4 separate regions of the Homo sapiens genome follow, and regions 1, 3 and 4 are each linked to region 2. The links are contacts of gene promoters, found by promoter capture Hi-C in human tissues and cell types (Jung and others, 2019). All regions are on one chromosome and are shown on one strand. Each heading gives the region's core, a stretch centred on a gene start or on the middle of the fragment in contact. The rest is flanking DNA. Distances are from core to core; before and after follow the strand shown.

The links. Contacts are between HindIII fragments. The study calls those that stand out against the background at their distance.
Region 1: a fragment that was not itself captured here is called in contact with the fragment with the promoter of NKAIN3 in region 2 in 1 of the 25 tissues and cell types used here (dorsolateral prefrontal cortex).
Region 3: a fragment that was not itself captured here is called in contact with the fragment with the promoter of NKAIN3 in region 2 in 2 of the 25 tissues and cell types used here (dorsolateral prefrontal cortex and stomach).
Region 4: a fragment that was not itself captured here is called in contact with the fragment with the promoter of NKAIN3 in region 2 in 1 of the 25 tissues and cell types used here (spleen).

What each region holds. Positions count from the first base shown.
Region 1 is chr8:62,639,568-62,643,228 of GRCh38, forward strand. The region is part of intron 3 of NKAIN3 (sodium/potassium transporting ATPase interacting 3); the gene reads left to right. Among named protein-coding and RNA genes, the nearest start is that of NKAIN3, 390 kb to the left of the region's middle. The HindIII fragment of the contact is 3,272 bases long and covers 22-3,293 here.
Region 2 is chr8:62,247,179-62,250,544 of GRCh38, forward strand. It overlaps NKAIN3 (sodium/potassium transporting ATPase interacting 3), which reads left to right and starts at 1,676. Exons shown (of 7, transcript NM_001304533.3): 1 at 1,676-1,949. The coding sequence starts at 1,896. LOC124901952 (a long non-coding RNA gene) reads right to left here. Exons shown (of 2, transcript XR_007060932.1): 1 at 2,279-3,366. The HindIII fragment of the contact is 6,824 bases long and covers 1-3,290 here.
Region 3 is chr8:62,533,009-62,536,374 of GRCh38, forward strand. All of the region lies in intron 1 of NKAIN3 (sodium/potassium transporting ATPase interacting 3), which reads left to right. Among named protein-coding and RNA genes, the nearest start is that of NKAIN3, 290 kb to the left of the region's middle. The HindIII fragment of the contact is 5,741 bases long and covers 1-3,366 here.
Region 4 is chr8:62,753,523-62,757,050 of GRCh38, forward strand. The region is part of intron 4 of NKAIN3 (sodium/potassium transporting ATPase interacting 3); the gene reads left to right. Among named protein-coding and RNA genes, the nearest start is that of GGH, 280 kb to the right of the region's middle. The HindIII fragment of the contact is 4,709 bases long and covers 1-3,528 here.

The sequences.
Region 1 (3,661 bases), core at 408-2,907, 390 kb after region 2:
TATGTACAGACAATATTAAAGCATAATTGCAAGTCGAGGTTGTTGTTGAGAAAAAGAAATTGACCTTGCAAAAGAGAGGGGAAATCATAAAATCAAGATTTTTGAGTGGATTAGAAGTGATAAAAATAGACAAGTTGGTCATCAGCAGGAACAAGCAAAAAGAGAAAAGGGGGAGGATGTGGGTGCAGAGAGTATAAATTTGAGTTAGTTTAGTGATGAGAAGTGAAGTGGTTTTTTTCTGATTACTTCCCTTTTTATTAATAAGGAATGAGGGGGGCCATAACTGATGAGGAAAAGAGCTTTTGGACACTGAGGAGAGAAATATAAGTCAATAATCATCTTGGAGAATGGGAACACAAATGTACCAGGAAATTATAGTAGGACTTCTAAGCTTTACCAAATGTCCATTCAAACTTTGTAGTCATAAATTTAGCCCTTATCTCTAATTTGACGTTTAGCACTGCATCACATTATTACTAACCATTTTGTATGTGAAAATCATATTTTTCCCAATCATTTACAAGTTTCTCAAAGGTGGAATCCCAAGGTTGTACTAATTGGTATCTTCTCCAGGGCATACTTCCGTGACCTGGCAAGTAGGTGCCTGATATGGTTTGGCTTTGTATCCCCACCCAAATCTCATCTTGAATTGTAATCCCCACATGTCAAGGAAGAGACCTAGTGGGAGGTGATAGGATCACGGGGGCGGTTTCCCCCATGCTCTTCTCATGATAGTGAGTTCTCATGAGATCTGATGGTTTTATAAGGGGCTCTTCCCCCTTTGCTTTGCCCTCTCTCTCACCTGCCGCCATGTAAGACGTGTGTCTTCCCCTTCTGCCATGATTGTAAGTTTCCTGAGGCCTCCCCAGGCATGAGGAACTCTGAGTCAATTAAACCTCTTTTCTTATAAATTGCCTAGTTTTGGGTAGTATCTCTATAACAGTGTGAGAATGAACTAATACAGTATCTCATAAAGATTTGTGAACTTTCAGATTGAAGACTGAATTTACCATTGTGAATTAAATGCCTGAGGAGATGTTTCTAGCCCTTCTTTCCTCTGCCCTGACCCATATTAAAAGAGGTATTCATAGAAATCATTGCTCTTTTTCCTCTGCGCGCACCCAGCCTGGCAAACACGTCTGGCTTAGCCCTCATATCACTAAAGGTATCCGTGGGATTCCTCTGAGCACCCCAGAGGTGGGTCTAAATTCTCCATCTACTCAAATATGTCCTCTACTCATCGAATCTGGTCTAGGACCTGAAGAAGCACTGGTGTGAGGTGGCTGTTTCTAGTTTCTTAAATCGAAGCTGAAAACTAGGGCCAGTTCTATTCAGTCATGTTTTTGTGTCCACATTCTTTAACCCCAGTAATGTCTAACCCTCAGCATTATGGTAGTAAAAGTCAGACACTGTGCCTGAGAAATAGAAAAGCCTCATTTATTTATTTTTTTTTTTTAGTCCCTTGCTTCTCAAAGTTGGTCCTAACACCAGCAGCACAAGTACTATCTTAGAGCTTATTAGAAATGCATCTTGGTTCTTGGGTTCATGGATTCACTCCAGACCCACTGAATCAGAATCTACACTTTAACAAGATGCTCAGATGATCCTTACACCACCAAAATTTGATAAGCACTCTTCTAGATGATAAAAGAAGCTCCCAAATACAGTTATGTAATTGTGCTAACAGAAAGCTTTGAAAAATAAATGAAAATTTTAATAATTGCTTTGATTTTTGTTCATAAATAAAGACACACTCTATTGCTGTGTGTCTTGCTGGACCTAAGGAACAGAAGGATTTTTTGATAGCTGTCAGGAAAGCTGAACTCTGTTTAATGTAGGCTGACTCTTCCATGTAATTGCAGCTAAAAAGTTAGCTATGAAATACCTTATCACAATAACAGAAATGCTCTCAGTAATCCATAAATTCTTTGTAGCACATTTGCTTTTTGTAGGTTTTTGATAAGTGGTTGGGAGGACAACCAGCAGTCAGAAAAACATCTGTATTCTTTAAGAGCCTGACTCTAGACAGACTCAAAATTCCTGGACACAGAGAAATGTTTCCTGGGCATTCAGATGCTACTTAGCAAGTTAAATAGCTCATTGATTGATAAAGTGAGAGGCAAGATTAGGAAGGGGTTAGTTATCTGAGTAACCTATTCTTGAATATGGAAATCACATAATTATTTTCAAGAGAATGTGTGTGAGAACGAATAAATGAAAAAGTTAGATATAGCTTTTTTTCTGTGCTACAAATCTTATATGTTTATTGAAAGTCTTTTCTCTAAGACTATGATGCATTTGGCTAAGATTAATTTCAGAAATTTTACCTGTATTTTTAATCTCATTTAGAAATGAATAGTAGCCATAAAAGAGGCCCTTATTGACTGCCCAGAGTGGTGGGTCACAAGGTAACATGTTCTGAGAATGCTGGGATGCAACCTGCCAAGAGATATATGGATGAAACAAATCAGACCATGCAACCGCACTGCACTCCTGGGAAAAATGCTTTTTAAAAAAATAAAGATAATACATGTTTTTTATTTAAAGTTTAGAAGTTGAGAAAATAACGATGACAAAAACAATGCTCCTACACCCATCTGTTCTGAGCTTACCACTTGAAACCCATTATTGAAATAGAAACCAGTTTGTCACTGGTAAGCTTGAGGTTCCTACATGTCACCATGTAGCATGACATAGCAGAACTGTCATCGAAACCTCAGTCAGAATTTTGTATTTCTCAACAAAACGTATACCCATAGGATACTAATGGGCACAGTCCATTACAAAGACATAATATCATTTTCTATATTTATTATCATAACACATTCTCACACCTATAGAGTAGTTTGTATTTAATATTGTCTTTTAGGCTTCTGATTTTGACATTGGATAATGTTGGTGCTGACCTCTGACTGCCAGGTTCTCAAAGGACAGCCTCATTTTTATAATTTATTCCCCCTTTCTTGGTCTCTTGGTACAATGCTAAACAATATAATGCACAAAGCAAACAAAGCAAATAACTGAATATACACCTTTTTGCTCTATCTGGTAAGGCAAATATACCCACTTAATTCACACCTTAATAATTTATTTTAAAAAATGTTAATCTCTTTTCTTTAGGAGCTTTTCCCTTGGCTCCTTTTCCTGCAGACAAAGTAGGTAGTTTACTTTGTCCAAAGTCGTGTTAAGTACAAATGAAATAATGATGAGCTTTATGTAGGCAGATTCCTCCCTCCTTTTTATATATTACCATTTTTCTCAATTAGTTTATATGCTAACATATTGTAAACAGAAAGACTTGTTAGTAAATACAAAAAGAGGCATGCATTTTCTATAATAAGATTGAATAAAATAAAAAATTTATTGGAACTATCTGAAATTTATATATTATTAAGCACAAAAGGGACACCTTCAGGTTTTTGTTCAGATCATAATTTTGGAGCATTTTTTGGTTCTAGAAATAAATGGAAATGACCAATGAATGTTAGTGCTAAAAGAATCCTTTGATAGCATCTTTTTTTGGCCTTTCTTTAAGATAACTTGGCACCAGAATAATAAAATAATGTAACCACATTTATTCAATTAGAGTATAGTGGTTTAAATGCACAGTTGTATTTTTTTCACCTCCAGTATAGTAACATTATTCTACAAGTTAGATATG
Region 2 (3,366 bases), core at 426-2,925:
TGCATAAAGGCAGCGTGCTCACATGATCCTTGATCACTGATGTCTTAACGCTTGAATTAAAAAAGGAGGAGGAGTTCTGACTGGACTTCTCCTGTCTCCATGATAATATCAGAGGTGGAATGTAAACAATGAATGTTCTTGACCCTTTTAATAACCCAAATCCTGAGGTTATTCATGTGTCCCTACTAGAATTTCAAAGATGTGCAGACTTCCTTGGGAATGATAACCGTCTTAAATTATAAACATAGATCCTGAAGAAACGTTTCAGAAAGGATAAAAATAAAAACAGGACTGCTTTTAACGCCTGAACTAACGGCTTGAGCAGTTTCCATGTCTGGAGTGGAAGTATTAAAAACGCAAAGATGTCTTGCCTTTTCTTACCAACCTACCGCCAAGAACCCAGGAGGGCAGCAGTGGGCTAGAAACAGGGTTTCTGTGCCAAATTCTGAAAACAGCCTTTTCTGAGATAATTGGCCTGCAGGCTTGTTCCCTGTTCTGGTGTGCTTTTGAGCTCCTTGCGCAGTTCCACCAGGTACAACAAATGCGCCCATAAAATCTGTCTTTGAGCCCTGATGAAATTTCATCCTCTGCAGAACGCCTCCGCTCTGTTTTATTAGGTGGGAGAGAGCAGGAGAGTTTCCACAGGATTCAGAGAGAGTTTGTCCGTATCTTAACTATCCGAGATCTTCTTTCCAAATCCTTCTCAATTTATTTCTGTGAAGATATATTTATACCTATTCCGGAAACCTTCTCCATTTCTAGAAAAAGCTACGCATCTTCTTCTTCCTCGACTTCTCTTTTCTCCCTCCCGGTGAGGATTTCAAAGGGTATGTGAGAAAAGAACCTTAAGCCAGGTCTCCCCGCGGCGTCCTGGCTAGTCCCGGCGCCCTGGGCGGGTGCATCGCTCCGCCGCAGCGCCCCTTGCCACCCAACTCTGTCCAACTTTCCCTTTCAGACTCCAGCAGGGGCGCCCTCCAGGCAACCGGCTGTGGCGGGCAGAAGCAAGCTCGGATGGGAGACCCCCGAGCTGCGTGCCCAGCGCCGGCTCAACAGACTTGCCCGCGCAGCGCCCGCGGGCCCCCTCGCATCCGGGCAGGTTCCGGAGCTGGGCCTTGCGCTCCCCGGCGCCCGCCCACCCTGGGTGTCTCGCGTCCCGGCCCTTCCTCCCCGGAACCCAAGCTAACCCAACTCCCATCCTCGCCACCTCTGGGGCAGCTCAACTAAGCCGTGTCCCCTCCCTTGCAAACGCGTCCGACCACCCTCCCAACCCCCAGCACAACCCTCAGCAAGAAAGCCCAGCTGGGTCTACCCAGTTACACCGGTCAACGAGGGTCTCCATCGCCGCCGGCCGCCCTAATTCACGCTCATTCATATTCATTCTCTTTTCTCTCTGTCCCTCTTCCTTTCTCCCCAAAGACTCTTAACTAGACAGGCCGATCCTCCCCAGCGGCACTCCCTTTCATTCTTCCCTTCCCACCACACACACACACACACACACACACCCGGACCCAGACAGCCCACTCCACTTTCCAGACGCCCACCTCCTACATACTCCCCTCCCCTAAACAGACATTCACCCACTCGCCATCTGTAGCCTCCTTCCAACCCCCCGCCCCGCCCGCCTGGCTCCCCCTCCCCAAGAAACAGACCTGCACAGTGGGACGCAGGGACCCCCGCCAGACGCTCGGGTCGTGCGCACCGCACTGACCTCGGCCCGCCCCGCCGGGAAACTAACAAAGGCGGGCGCGAGCCCCGAGCCCTGGAGCCGCGAGCGGCGGCCGCGGGGCCGAGGAGCCTGGGCCGGGCCGGGCGGGGACTACTCCGGAGTCAGGAGGCAGCAGCGGCGGAGGACGAGGATCTCTGGCAGTCAGCGCCGCTCGGACGCCGCCGGCACCATGGGCTGCTGCACCGGACGCTGCTCGCTCATCTGCCTCTGCGCGCTGCAGTTGGTGAGTGCCCCGAGGGCCCCTGCCCCAGGACAGGTCCCTGCTCCAGGACCGGCCTCTGCGACTCCCTCTGCGGTTCCGCAGCTCCCGGCAAGGGGCGAACGGGTGAACAGGGCGCTCCGCCCGCCTCCCACCCTCCCCACCGCCTGGCTGGGCTCGCACTGCTCTCCAGCCGCGGGCACTCGCCAGGTCGCCCCTGCCCTGCAGGAGGGCGCGGTCTCACCCCCGGTCCCATGCGCTGGGGTTCGCCGCGCTCCCGCCGGGCGTCGCCACGCGGTCCAGGGGCCAGGAGCCGGCGGAGTGAGGGATTTTCCCGCCCCTTGATCCGATACCTGGTTTAGCACCCTCCGCGTTCGTGCTGAAGTTACACGGGGACTTGCGGGCTCTTTCTTCTTAGGATGATTTCCAGGAATGTTGCTTAATTACACTGTGTGGGAATGCCCAGGTTCTGAGGAGACAGAAGCTGCCTCAACTCTGTTAGTGAAGAGTGAGGTGGTTCTAACCTTAAGCAGGTTGAAAAGTGATGGTTAAGGAGTCTGGGACCTCCAGGAAGGAGATCAGGCTGTGTGCTTCAGCCCCTGCCCTTCCAGTTCCGCTTTGGATTTTGTTGAAATGTTGCATGTTCAGGCGGCGACAGACTGACAGCTGTCATCAAGGAGAGAACAGAGTGAACCGGCTCCATTGGCGCGGTGCCTTGCAGAGGGAGTGTGTGTAATGGGAAGTTAGAAACTAGAGTGGGGAAAAAAGGCCCTTTCAGAGCAGAGCAAATGCTCCTCTTAATCCCTTTGGATCCTGGACTGGCTCTGTGGTCTATTCCATGGTCACTTGAGGTCAAGGCCACAGACCTTTTGAGTCAGACTTTTGTGTGTGAGAGATTAATAGACATCTCCCTTGCGTTATACTTCAGACAGATTCTGAGTGCTCTGCCAAGCTTTCTTCCAAGCATTGTATTTTTTTTCGAGTCACAAATATAAACTAGTATATTTTGACAAGTGAGAGGAAAAAGCTTGCAATGAACTTTACTTAGTAATGTCATCCCTTGCAAGACTTATTAACTGAGGGATAAAATCGTGCTTTTTAGTAGTTAGTCCTTGTTTACATGAAGGCTTTAGAATGTTTTCACTTTTCTCTTGCCTCAGTGTTCCAGTCTCCCATGAAAACCTCACTTTGGATGTGCCCTTCATTGTTCACATAATGCATGCATAATTTATGTATTCGTAGGTTTGAAATCAGTGACTTTTTAAGCCTATTGGATAGTGCCTTCTGTCTTGTGAAATACTTGAATCAAACATATTTTATAGTTTCTTGAAAAAAATTTTAAAAATTTAAAACAATATGAATGTTTTCTTTCACTAAGAAAAGAAGGCAGGAGCTTGATTTGTATTTTGGTTTTCAGAAATGGACATGGCTTATAAGTTGG
Region 3 (3,366 bases), core at 363-2,862, 290 kb after region 2:
TTAGATACTATTTTCAGACAAACAAAATGCTCTGACATTCTAGTGGTGTGGGGGAGACAACAGAAATAAATCAGATACATACATAAAATATACAATAGTGGAATAATGATATATGCTTATGTGATAAGGAAAAGAAAACAGGAAATGAAGGAGTTTGGGGAGGAAACTGTAAGTTACAGTTTGATTAGGAAAGGCCTCATTGAAAATGTGCCTTTGAGTAAGCACCCTGTTAAAGAATGAGTATCTCGAGGGGACACATGTAAAAAGATGGAATTTTAACCAGTAATAACTAGAGCTATTAACAGTCGATACCTTCTGGGGGGATAATCTTATAGAATGGCCCAGCTGCAGTGGAACAAACTGTAGAACATAGATTGAGGCTCTGTGTGGTGACACCAAAAAGGAAGTCTCCTAAATGTATAGTTTCGCCTGAAGCGGGCTTAGCCCCATGGCTGGGCAGGGCCTTATGTGCTCATCTTCTCACCCCACCTCCTAACAGGGCTTCAGGATGCTTGGACCAGGAGAATCATCCTCTAAAGAACATGAATTACATTTGGGAGACTGAGTTCTCTCTACTTGGAAGGCCCAGGAAAGATTTCCCCTTTTTTCTGCTGCTTTCTTCCTTAGTAGATCTTTTGAAAGTTTCTTAAATTTGTAAAATTGCTCTCCCCTTTCCTTGAATCTTTAGTCGTTAGCTGTATACAGAGAAAAAGTCCCATGTATAAATTGGTCGTTTGTGTTATATTCACAGGAATGGGAATTAAGCCTGAATTTTTAAAATGTTTTTTCAGACCCTGAGTAAATATTAGTAGAACTCATCTACCATGAAATTATGGAAAACAAAATTGTGATAATACTTATTCTGCAATATCATCCAGACTTGCAAGTTGCTAGACATGAAAGAAATACCACAAACTGGAACTGGAATATGAGGGAGAATGTGGGGTCCATGGAGGACACTGCAAGTCCCTTTCTGTGATTGTCTCCGGCTGACTTCAGACGCAACATTACCATGGCAACTTCGTGAAAACAAGGAGGGTAGGCTGAGCTCTTCCCAGCTACTGAATTTTCTGAGTCTCTCTCTATTGTCTGATGATCTTCCTGCCTGAGATCTCCCACTTTTTATTAAGCACCACGGGCATGAGATGAGAGCTCTGCCCCCGGCTAGGCTTGTTCCCATACGTATGTTCCAGTGAGCGTGCACAGGAAGCCCGGGTCTGAGTTAAACAGCGACCACACGTGGGAAAAGTTGAGTTTCTTCCTTTGAAGGTTAATGACAACCAAGCTAGGTTAAATGAAACACCTGTCTGGAAGAAACACTGACAACAGGCATGCTCATAAATAGTACAGGTCACCCGCTGAGCTGACTCTAGTGCAACCTTCTCTCGCAGTGCTGATATTGCCGAACCACGAAATCATACCCACCAGCACGTCATTTGTTAGTTAGAAAGGATGTCATTTTGAACATCATTAAATGTATTTTTTTCACACCCCCAAAACCAACATAAGATGAATGTCACCTGTGAACTGTAAAACGCATCAGCTGTTTCTTATTGAAAACATAACACAGCGGTTTTCATACTTCAGCATGCAGCCAAAGGGCCTCAATGGCTCGCTAAATCAGAGTACTGGGCCCCACCCCCAGACTTTCCTTCTGTAAATCTGGAGTAAAGCCTGGGTATCTGTACTAACAGAATTAGAAGAATTTGAATTTGTTGATGCTGCTGCTTCTGGGCTAAATTCTAGAACCACTGGTCTAGCAGAGACCTCTACTTCTCCATATGGCTGCCCCTGCCTGCCAGGGAAGTGCTTCTTTCTTCATGGTAAAAATGTAAAAACATTGCATTTATTGGTTTTTTTTTTTTTCGTATAGTTTCTGATTTTCTGAAAGCTCCACAGAATGGTCCCAAAGAAAGTGTTCATGAGCAGCTTCCTGTGAAACACAACTAGACAAATAACTCTATCCATTGCAGATGTATAATTGGAATTCAAATTGATTTGTGTGCATGCTTTTTTATGAGCATTATTTATAAACTTGGAATTGGAGTGTCTTTATGGAGTCATTACTACCATTCAGTTCAACACTAAGTGATTCTTCTTTGCATCCAAAATTGGTAGAGCTAGCAGATGAGCACTGAGTTGAATTCGTACACTATTTGTCTCATTGAAGTACTGACAGCACATGCCACAGTCCACGTGCTGTTTCAGTTATGCTCATATTCATGTTATGTTCGGAAAACTCTCTCTGTGTTTTCTATTCTCACACTAAAGCAATCATCAATACAGAAGAAGACTTCTGTGACCATATGTGTGGGGTGTTTTTCCCCACACACCAAGCAGTGAACACCAGCTGGGTGTCCTCTAATTCAATTCTGACTTTATCTACCTGGAGACAGTGTCAGATCTCACAGGTTGAGGGCTCAGTCCCTAAGACTGCCCTGCCTTCCACTCACCCCGCTACCAGTCCCAAGTTTGAGCCTCCAGAACTTCTGACCACCGGGCTTCAAGTTGGGATTCCCATGATCCTTTCTTTAGGCTCATCAATTTTCTGGAGTGGCTCACAGAACTCAGGGAAACATTTACTTACATTTGCTGATTTATTATAAAATATATTGCAAAGGATCAAGATGAGGAGATGTATAGGGTGAGGTATGGGGGAAAGGACATGGAGCTTCCATACCCTCCCTGGGTGCCCTACCCTCCAGCAGCCTCCAGGTATTCAGCTCCCTGGAAGCTCTTGGAACTCTGTCCTCTTGGGTTTTTATGGAAGCCTCATGACTTCAGCATTCCTACTTCCAGAGAATAGGGTGGGATCCTCTAATGAGAGAGTCTTAAGACCCACAATCAGAAAGTCCAGGGAAGATTAGAGTCCTACTTTGGGCAGGTAAAAGGAGGGCCAGACATCAATGGCCTGCCTCTGAGTCCTAATACACCCAACATTGTAACAAAAGACTGTAACAAGGGCTATGGGAGTTATGAGCCAGGAACCATGGATGAACACCAATATATATCCTAACACCACATATGTCATATATGTATATACATAAGTACAGAAACACACATATATATGTGACTATATATGTGAATCTTAGGACATGTATAGACATGCATGAAAAATTTCAAAGAAATGACTCTATTTTTGGAGCATTAATTATAAGTGAAGCCATTTGGAACATGAATAAAGAATGCTTATAGCATTTTTAAGATTAAAATTCATTTTAAAATAAATTTATTATAATAATTACTTCAAAAAGCAATGCGGGCAAGCTCCAAGATGACAGATCTCTAGCTGAAGATGGATGACAAGCTGCTTTCTCTATTAGGCCTGCAAAACAAATATTTTTAAGTCCTAAACATATAGAACAG
Region 4 (3,528 bases), core at 253-2,752, 510 kb after region 2:
TGAACAAATGTGTTCACATAAGGGAAAAACATCCAAATTGTAAACAGTTTGGTATAAAATATAATTATTGATACTAACCTGATGTATGCAAGTTAACTTTGAAAAAATTATTTTCACTAATTTAGCAATTTGTAAAGATAATGTTAAATAGAATTGTAATTCACTTATTGGTAGAAGCAGTCTTTGTCTCAAAGACTATTAAAATGCCCATAACTTTTGGTCTTGTAACCCCACTCAATGGGCTTTCTTCTAAGAAAATAATTCAACAGAAAGAAACAGCTACCTGCATTATGTTCATTTCAGTGTTATTTATAACAGCAAATCTGGATATGTATAAATATATGCAATTAAAGACATGGTATAACAATTTATAGTACATCAACTTGATGAATAGAAAGTAATAACTATGTTAATTTTAAGACCATATATAAAACATGAAACAGTTTTTTATGATTCAAGTACATAATCCAGGAAGAAAGTTCAGATACAAAAAGATTTAGAATTATGGATATGCCTTCCCAAAAAAATGTTTTTACACATTGTATGATATTTTAAATAATACTATTTAATTATCATATTTGTATATTTGATTTGTATAGAAAATCAGAAGAGATGTTATAGTTGCTTTTCTTAAATTATCAACCAATCCTAAATCTCATAACTTTTATTTGATCATTTAGAGGCACTCATAAATCTTAGTTACTATAAAATATTTCATTTTAGTGGACTGCTCAGTTCTGGGGTTAATAAGTCAATAATATCCAATTTAAGTCCCTTTTTAATTTTCAGTGTTAGTTATTTACTGGTAAACATGGATTCATATGCTCATGTTGATTAGTGCACACACACACACACACACACACATGCACACATATAAAGGAGCTCATTTTTATAACTAGTAGAAAAATCCTAATCTCCAAACTTGGAAAAGAGTTTTAAAACTCACCTTATTGATTTCTCTTTGCAGCTAATTTTACACATATATTGTCTTGAATCCTCACTGTCAATATATTCTCCCTCATATCTGATAGGTGACAAGTCACATTCTTTAACAAACCTTTGGAGGTTGTCACCATGGTCGGAGCTGGGGTCCTATGAGAATTGTTTTTTCATCATCCCTATGCCTTTTGCATTGTATCTCTCTGTTCACATCAACATTTGTCACTGTTCTCTGCCTTTCATATCGGACACATTCAGCTTAATGATAAATTAAAACTTAATAGAGAAGGGTAAAAAGTAATATTAGACCACAAGGTATCCTGTAGAATCTTTGTTCTCCAAAGGCTGTATAGCTATCTGTTCATATGCTTATAGAATAAATTGCACAATGTCAGAGTAGACAATACTACTGTTGCTTCAGTAACATGCTCACAGAGTGCAAGAATGTAAGTCAAAAGACAGGTGAAACTGAACTTTTGAAATATATCCCAATTGCTTTTAATTGTACCTCTCCAAAAATGTAAATATAGTTAAAAGATTTTTTTAAATTTCTGTGTTAACATTTGCATTTATTTAACAAACTCAGCATGCTCTTGGAGCTGATCTCTGTGCTTTTCAAATATGAACTCACTTAATTCTCAAAATGACCCATGAGGGTAGTGTTATTATAGTCATTTTATATGTGTGAAAACTGAGACACATGGAGAAGTTAAAAAATGTGCCCAAGATCCCACAGCTTGTGAGTGAAGGTGGACCTCAAACCCTGGCAGACAATTCCTGGTCATGTGAGAAAAGAGGACTTCTCCTTGCAACACCTTGCAGGGTTCGGGGGTAAACTCTGTCAGATCCATAAAGCTATGAATCTCCTGTTAGGCTGATGGGATTTAATTGCAGCTCCACTATTAGAAAGTAAAAATAAAAGTACAATTATGTCTAATAGTTAAAAGATTGGCAAATAGTTAAAAATGTTTCCTTTCACTCTTGAAAACATCTCTCAACAGCCTTTCTGATCATTGTTGTTTATTTTTTAAATGGATTATTTCAACATTTGTCAAATGCTAAATATATTGGACTCTTTTTTTTTCTCTTTTGCTTGCTAGCGCTTTCCAGGGTCTAGTAAGAGGAAAGAAATCATGACCAACCTCTCCTGTCCCAAAAGCCTCCCAGGATTACCCTTTTACCAGAAAATCTATTTTTATATAAAATAGATGGCTTCTGCTCATACCAAATTTTGAGCTGCTTCTAAGTGCTAGATAGAACTATTAAAGATTTAGACTGACTTACTCACTATACACCATCTCTGGTCTCTATATTCAGTTCCATGCTCAGAAAAGTAAAGCAACAGTTTATCTAAAGTTCCACTCACCCAAGGAATCATTTATTGGATCATCACAATATTGAGAGGGGTTTATGGTTGTGGGAGAATTTCCATGCCAAAAATATTCAAAGGGCTTTGGCAGAAACATTTGTGTTCAGAAGCCAGGGTACACCTGGTCAGTCAAATTGTTGGGGCCTGGAACTGTCCATTTAGTGAGCTGTGATTTTAAATCACTTCATTCTTTGTATTTGTGTCTATGCAGTATACTCTCTTGGTGAAATGTGTATACATTTTTGTCAGACTTACTGAAATATGATTCACATACCATACAATTCATCATTTTAAAGTGTACAATTCAATAGCTTTCAGTCTACTCACAGATATGTGCAACCATCACCATGGTCAATTTTAAGACATATTTATCACCTTGGAAAGAAAGCACCACCCCTTAGCTATCACAACCTGTGCATTCTTCTCCCCAGCTCTAAGAAACTACTAATCTAATTTCTGTCTCTATAGACTTGCCTCTACTGGATATGTCATATAAATGTGGTCTTTCGTGTTTGGCTTCTTTCACTTAGCACATATTTTTAAGGTTCACCCATGTAGCATGTATCAGAACTTCCTTTTTTATGGCTGAATAATATTCTATCATACATTTACTCTTAATATCTCTGCCTGTTACAGATATATGTATAATATTTAGCAAAATTTTCTGAACTAAAATTTAAATTTAGTTAGCCTTCACCTTCCCACTGATAAATTCTGAGAGGAATTTAGGCAATCCACTGTATATTTTATCTACATAACGTCATATGTTCATCTTTTGGAAACATCTGCGTTACAGATAGCAACTGACAGCTCTTACACGGATGCCTGGTCTTATATAAATCCAATATTATGGTTATCTATCTTTTGTCCACAGCATCTATGGGTTTTAACAATTTAAAGCATGTGAACATTTAAAGCTTATATTCCTCTTATACCATAACACTCTCCATAACAGTATGCATATGATTAGTATTTTTTCTATATGCCAATCAGTTATCCCAACCACAAATTTTATGCCATCGCTAAACAACAGAATTCAGTCTCTTGAGCCCTGATGCTCATGATTATCCCAGACAGACATGTTTGTGCATCTTCATAAATTATTACTGCCTTACTAGTTTCAAATAATCTCCAAATATTGATTATTAAATGCAAACATGAGTTATGACATTTGGTAAACTTAAATATTGTTTCATCAGAGAAATGAAAAACTTAATTAG